Regions from separate parts of the Homo sapiens genome. Here region 2 is linked to region 1. The links are contacts of gene promoters, found by promoter capture Hi-C in human tissues and cell types (Jung and others, 2019). All regions are on one chromosome and are shown on one strand. Each heading gives the region's core, a stretch centred on a gene start or on the middle of the fragment in contact. The rest is flanking DNA. Distances are from core to core; before and after follow the strand shown. Region 1 overlaps FBXL12 (F-box and leucine rich repeat protein 12). Region 2 holds the start of OR7D2 (olfactory receptor family 7 subfamily D member 2).

The links. Contacts are between HindIII fragments. The study calls those that stand out against the background at their distance.
Region 2: a contact is called between the fragment with the promoter of OR7D2 here and a fragment that was not itself captured in region 1, in 1 of the 25 tissues and cell types used here (dorsolateral prefrontal cortex).

Annotation. Positions count from the first base shown.
Region 1 is chr19:9,807,679-9,810,481 of GRCh38, reverse strand. FBXL12 (F-box and leucine rich repeat protein 12) reads left to right here. Exons shown (of 3, transcript NM_017703.3): 3 at 1-212. Among named protein-coding and RNA genes, the nearest start is that of FBXL12, 10 kb to the left of the region's middle. The HindIII fragment of the contact is 6,151 bases long and covers 1-2,803 here.
Region 2 is chr19:9,177,523-9,180,325 of GRCh38, reverse strand. It overlaps OR7D2 (olfactory receptor family 7 subfamily D member 2), which reads right to left and starts at 1,347. Exons shown (of 3, transcript NM_175883.4): 1 at 1,203-1,347. The HindIII fragment of the contact is 33,183 bases long and covers 1-2,803 here.

The sequences.
Region 1 (2,803 bases), core at 164-2,663:
ACTGTCTATGCATGCACACCCACAAGCCTATACACCATTTATATACCTACACGCACGCAAGAGACGCGGAGAGATAGGCGATGCAGACTCGCGATTCAATGATCGATATGCTCATAAAAGTGCTCAATTATATTTTCTGTATTTTGTATGCTGTATTTTCCAAGACGTATATTATTTTACTATTAAAGAAAAAAATCATTTTTTTTTCCCGAGAAGTATTCAGTTTATTCATTCAACCAATCTTTCTTGAGCTTCTGCTATTTTGCAGGCACTGTTCTAGGTTCTGGGAAACTGGGCCACCACAGTGAACAAAACTGACAAGACCCTGCCCTCGTAGATCTCATAGAGGAGAAGACAGGACAACAAACAGGTAAGCCAGTCCATGCTTTAGTTTTTTTGTGTGGGGACAGAGTCTCACTCTGTCACCCAGGCTGGAGTGCAGTGGTGCGATCTTGGCTCACTGCAACCTCCGTCTCCCGGGTTCAAGTGATTCTCCTGCCTCAGCCTCCCAAGTAGCTGGGATTACAGGCACCCGCCACCACGCCCAGCTAATTTTTGTATCTTTAGTAGAGATGGGGTTTCACCATGTTGGTCAGGCTGGTCTCAAACTCCTGACCTCGTGATCTGCTCACCTCGGCCTCCCAAAGTGCTGGAATTACAGGTGTGAGCCACTGCGCTCGGCCACCATGTTGTAATTTTGGAGACTCTGAGCCAGTACACCAGGGTCACGTGATGGAGGCATACTTGCATGGTTGAGTGAGCACGGTAGGCCTCTGTGCTGAGATCTGAGAGGTGAAGAGAAAGCAAAGATCAGAAGAGCTAGGGCAGAAGAGGAAAGGCCAGCACTGCTAAGATGAGAATGAACTTGGCATTTTCCAGAAACAGAAAGAAGGTTGTGTGGCAGAGTGAGCAGGGGTAAGAGCTGTCGAAGTTGAGGTCAGGGCCGGGCATGGTGGCTCACATGTGTAAACCCAGCACTTTGGGAGGCTGAGGTGGGTGGATCACTTGAGCCCAGGAGTTTAAGGCCAACCTGGGACATCTGAGGCAAGTGAATCACTTTGAGTTCAGGAGTTTGAGACCAGCTTGGGCAACATGGTGAAACCCTGTCTCTACAGAAAAAATTAGCCAGGTGTGGTGGTGTGCATCTACCCAGCTGGTATCCCAGCTATTCAGGAGGCTGAGGTGGGAGGATTGCTTAAGCCTGGGACTCGGAGGTTGCAGTGAACTGTGATCACCACTGCACTCCAGACTGGGTGACAGAGTGAGACCCTGTCTCAAAAAAAAAAAAAATAAAACAAAAGGAGATAATGGGGACAGGAGTGGGCAGGGCCTTGCAGGTGGCTCAGGCTTTAGGGGTTCAGTAAGTAACACCACCTTTTCCTGCCTTTCGAGTCTGAACCACTTGAAAGATGCAGGTGTCAGATTATAAGTGTGAGTGCCTACCCGTGAGATGAGCGTTGCTGTGTGTGGCTAAGCCCCGGCTCTGTGGGTTCACCACCTGCTCAGCAGGCCCAGGTGCCTCCTCTGGTGCTTAGAGCCAGGTTGGAGAAGAGAGCTGAGCTGGGTACACTTGGTTTCTTATTCCAAGCTTACCCATCAGAGAAGAGCCAGAGATGTTCCTCCCATGCTCTTCCCACTCAGAGTTGCAGTAGAAATTCCTTCTCTTTCTGTCTCTCTTTTTTTTTTTTTTTTGAAACGGAGTCTTGATCTGTTGCCCAGGCTGGAGTGGTGCAGTGGTGCAATCTTAGCTCACTGCAACCTCTGCCTCCCAGGATCAAATGATTCTCCTGCCTCAGCCTCCTAAGTAGCTGGGAATACAGGCGTGTGCCACCATGCCTGGCTAATTTTTGTATTTTTAGTAGAGTTGGAGTTTCACCATATTGGTCAGGCTGGTCTCAAACTCCTGACCTTGTGATCTGCCCACCTTGGCCTCCCAAAGTGCTGGGATTACAGGTGTGAGCCACTGCGCCCAACCTTTTTTTTTTTTTTTTTTTTTTTTTTAAATAGAGATGGGGCCAGGCACGGTGTGTCCCATGCCTGTAATCCCAGCACTTTGGGACACCAAGGCGGGAGGATCATCTGAGGTCAGGAGTTCGAGACCAGCCTGGCCAACATGGTGAAACCCCGTCTCTACTAAAAATACAAAGATTAGCTGGACTTGGTGGCACATGCCTATAATCCCAGCTACTCAGGAGGCTGAGGCAGGAGAATCGCTTGAACCCTGGAGTGGGAGGTTGCAGAGAGCCGAGATTGTACCACTGCACTCCAGTCTGGGCAACAGAGAGAGACTCTGTTTCAAAAATAAATATAGATAGATAGATAGGAGGTTGCAGAGAGCCGAGATTGTGCCACTGTACTCCAGCCTGGGCAACAGAGAGAGACTCTGTTTCAAAAATAAATATAGATAGATAGATAGACAGACAGGTAGACAGACAGAGACAGGAGTCTCCCTATGTTGCCAAGACTGGTCTCGAACTCCTGGGCTCAAGCCATCCTACTTCAGCCTCCCAAGTAGCTGGGACCACAGGAATGTGCCACCACACCTAGCTACTTTTTATTTTTTGTAGAGATGGGGGTCTCACTGTGTTGCCCAGGCTGGTCTCTAACTCCTGAGTGCAAATGATCCTCCTGCCTTGGCCTCCCAAAATACTGGGATTACAGGCATGAGCCACCTCACCTGAAATTCCTTCTCCATCTGGCCACATGAGGACTAGGCTATGAGTGTGCCCCTGATGTGGCCCTAGTCAAGGTCTGATTGTCCAATGCTGTGACCACCCCAGCAGCTCCAGCCCAGGACATCAGG
Region 2 (2,803 bases), core at 98-2,597, 630 kb after region 1:
AGCCTAGACAACAAAATGAGACACTTGCCTCTACAAAAATAGATTTTTAAAAAATTAGCTACTTGGGAGGCCAAGGCAGGAGGTTTGCTTGAGCCCAGAAAGACCCTGTCTCAAAAAAAAAAAAAGTCAACTTAAACACAATTAATTACAACTAATCAGTGTCATCAGCTTTCTTATGTATCTGCAAACAGCCATGAGAAAAAATAAGAGGAAAAAAAGTCCATTCACAATTGCAATGATAATATATGTAACATCTGGTGCAGAGTGAACATTTAATACATACTTGTTTTGTTTTGCTTTGCTTTGTTGATTTTTTTTTTTTTAGACGGAGTTTTGTTCTTGTTGCCCAGGCTGAAGTGCAATGGTGCAATCTCAGCTCACTGCAACCTCTGCCTCCCAGGTTCAAGAAATTCCCCTGCCTCAGCCTCCCAAATGGCTGGGACTACAGGCACACACCACCATGCCCGGCTAATTTTGTATTTTTAGTAGAGACAGGGTTTCACCATGTTGGCCAGGATGGTCTCGATCTCTTGACCTTGTGATCCACCCGCCTCGGCCTCCTAAAGTTCTGGGATTATAGGCATGAGCCACTGCACCCGGCCGAGAACTATTATATTATACTAGAGAAGAAAAAGGAAGGTGTTAGCAGGTAGACTGAAAGGAATCCACTCAAGGAAGTGCCAGTTCCTACTGACATTGAGAAAGTCACTAGTTTCCAGAATGAAAGGCCATCAGAGGTGGAGGTGACAGAAACAGTTGCAATAGAATCTTTTTTTTTTTTTGAGACAGCGTCTCACTCACTCTGTCACCCAGGCTGGAGTGCAGTGGCGTGATCTTGGCTCATGGCAACCTCTGTCTCCCGGGTTCAAGCCATTCTCCTGACTCAGGCTCCCGAGTAGCTGGGATTACAGGCATCCGCCACCATGCCCAGCTAATTTTTGTATTTTTAGATGAGATGGGGTTTCACCAAGTTGGCCAGGCTTGTCTTAGACTCCTGGCCTCAAGCGATCCGCCTGCCTCAGCCTCCCAAAAGTTGCAATGCCTTAAGACATCTATAACCAGGTAAGGGAATCCTAGAGACATTTTAAAAATCATGAGACATTATCAACCCTGTTACCTCCATCTCTGTTCCTCCCCACACTACTTTTTAAATCCTTTTCACACACGGTACTAACAAGGATAGTGTGAGTCACTCAACTGACATTGCTTGAAAAAAAAAAATGCTGGTATGACGTCTTCCTCCCCTGACTGTTGAATGCTGAAGACAGAATCTAGCAGGGAAAGGCGGGGAGATGGAACTTGTCATGAAGTCATCCTAACTCTCCTCTCTAAGATGCATGAGTGTGGCGTCAGGAAACTGTCCAGGTGAGGTGTTTTAGGGAAGTATTTATGGTTTCTCAAGCCCCAGGGAGCTGATGTCTCATCCTTCCTCATTAAATCCACTGTTCCAGTGATGTTCTACTCTCCAACCCATTCGGCTCCCTTGGGATCAAGAGCAAATGGCAGAAAGGTATGATGTGTTCTAATTCTGTTTCCAAGAAGGCAGCTCTGAAGCCAGGTGACTCTCTCTGCACCTCCCACCCTCTTGGGGCCTCTTTATTCTTGGAAGAGCTTTCATCACTATTGGTTTGGCTTTGAGATAAAGAGGTTTTCCCCTCTGGAATGTGTCGCAGAAGCTACAAAGACCCATCTCTCTGTAATCCCAGTGCCTAAGGGTCTCAAGGTAACACAGAAGAAAATAGAGATGCAACTATTTCCGTGAATCCCCTGTGATCGCGTTGGCTGCAGGGCGTTAAACAGGCTGTGGACATGTCGTAAGTCCTGTTTCAAGAGAGGGAGAGTCAACCATTGCGAGATACAGCAAGATTTCTCTTCAAACAGCCTGCTCAGCTTCTTATTCTCTAATTCCAAGTACCCCCCCCACACACTTTCTTCTCCTTTTCTTCTTTCTGATTTTGCTGCATGCCCAGATATGCCATAGCCCCAGCTCACATTTCTTTCCTTATTTAAGAATAGACTAGCTGTCTATTCCTCTGTAGAAGACCCCTTCCTCCTCTCCTCTGTCTCCCATCACACACCCACCTTATCTAAGACAGTTTAAATGTGTAACCAATCAAGTCTAGTTTAGATTGTGCTGTCCGACCCCAGCCAATGGGGAAAGGACACACAAAGTCAAGAGTCGCATTAAGAATAAAAGTTGCTACTCTCCTTTGTTCAGGGTGCTCTTGTAGCAGCCAACCCTACGAGAAGCACCCTTCTGCGCAGAAGTAAATTTGCTTTGCTGAGAAATCCTTTGTTTGAGTGCTCATTTTTCTTTATGACTCCAAGATTTATTTCTAACAACCATGTAAAACGATGCTATAAGGCTAAGCAAAATAAAGGCTGAAGAATATCCATCACATTTAATGGCATGGAAAACATTAGAAACAGCGATCTGGGTAGAGTGATGGGGAAAATTTCATTGATGGCAAGTTTGGGAGGAACTGAACAATAAGAAAAAAGTTTTTTTCAATTTTTAAAATGATGGTAAAATATACATAACATACAGTTCACCATCTTAACCATTTTAAGTGTACTATTCAGTGGCATTAAGTATATTCACAGCAGCCATCACTATCCTCCATATTCAGAATCTTCTCATCTCCCCAAGCTGAAACTCTGTCCCGTAACACTCATCCCTCATTCACCCTCCCCAGCCCCTAATGAACCACCATACCACTTTCTGTCTCTATAATTCTGACTGTGGTACCTACTTCATAGACGGAAGTATACACTGTTTGTCTTTTTGTGACTGACTTATTTC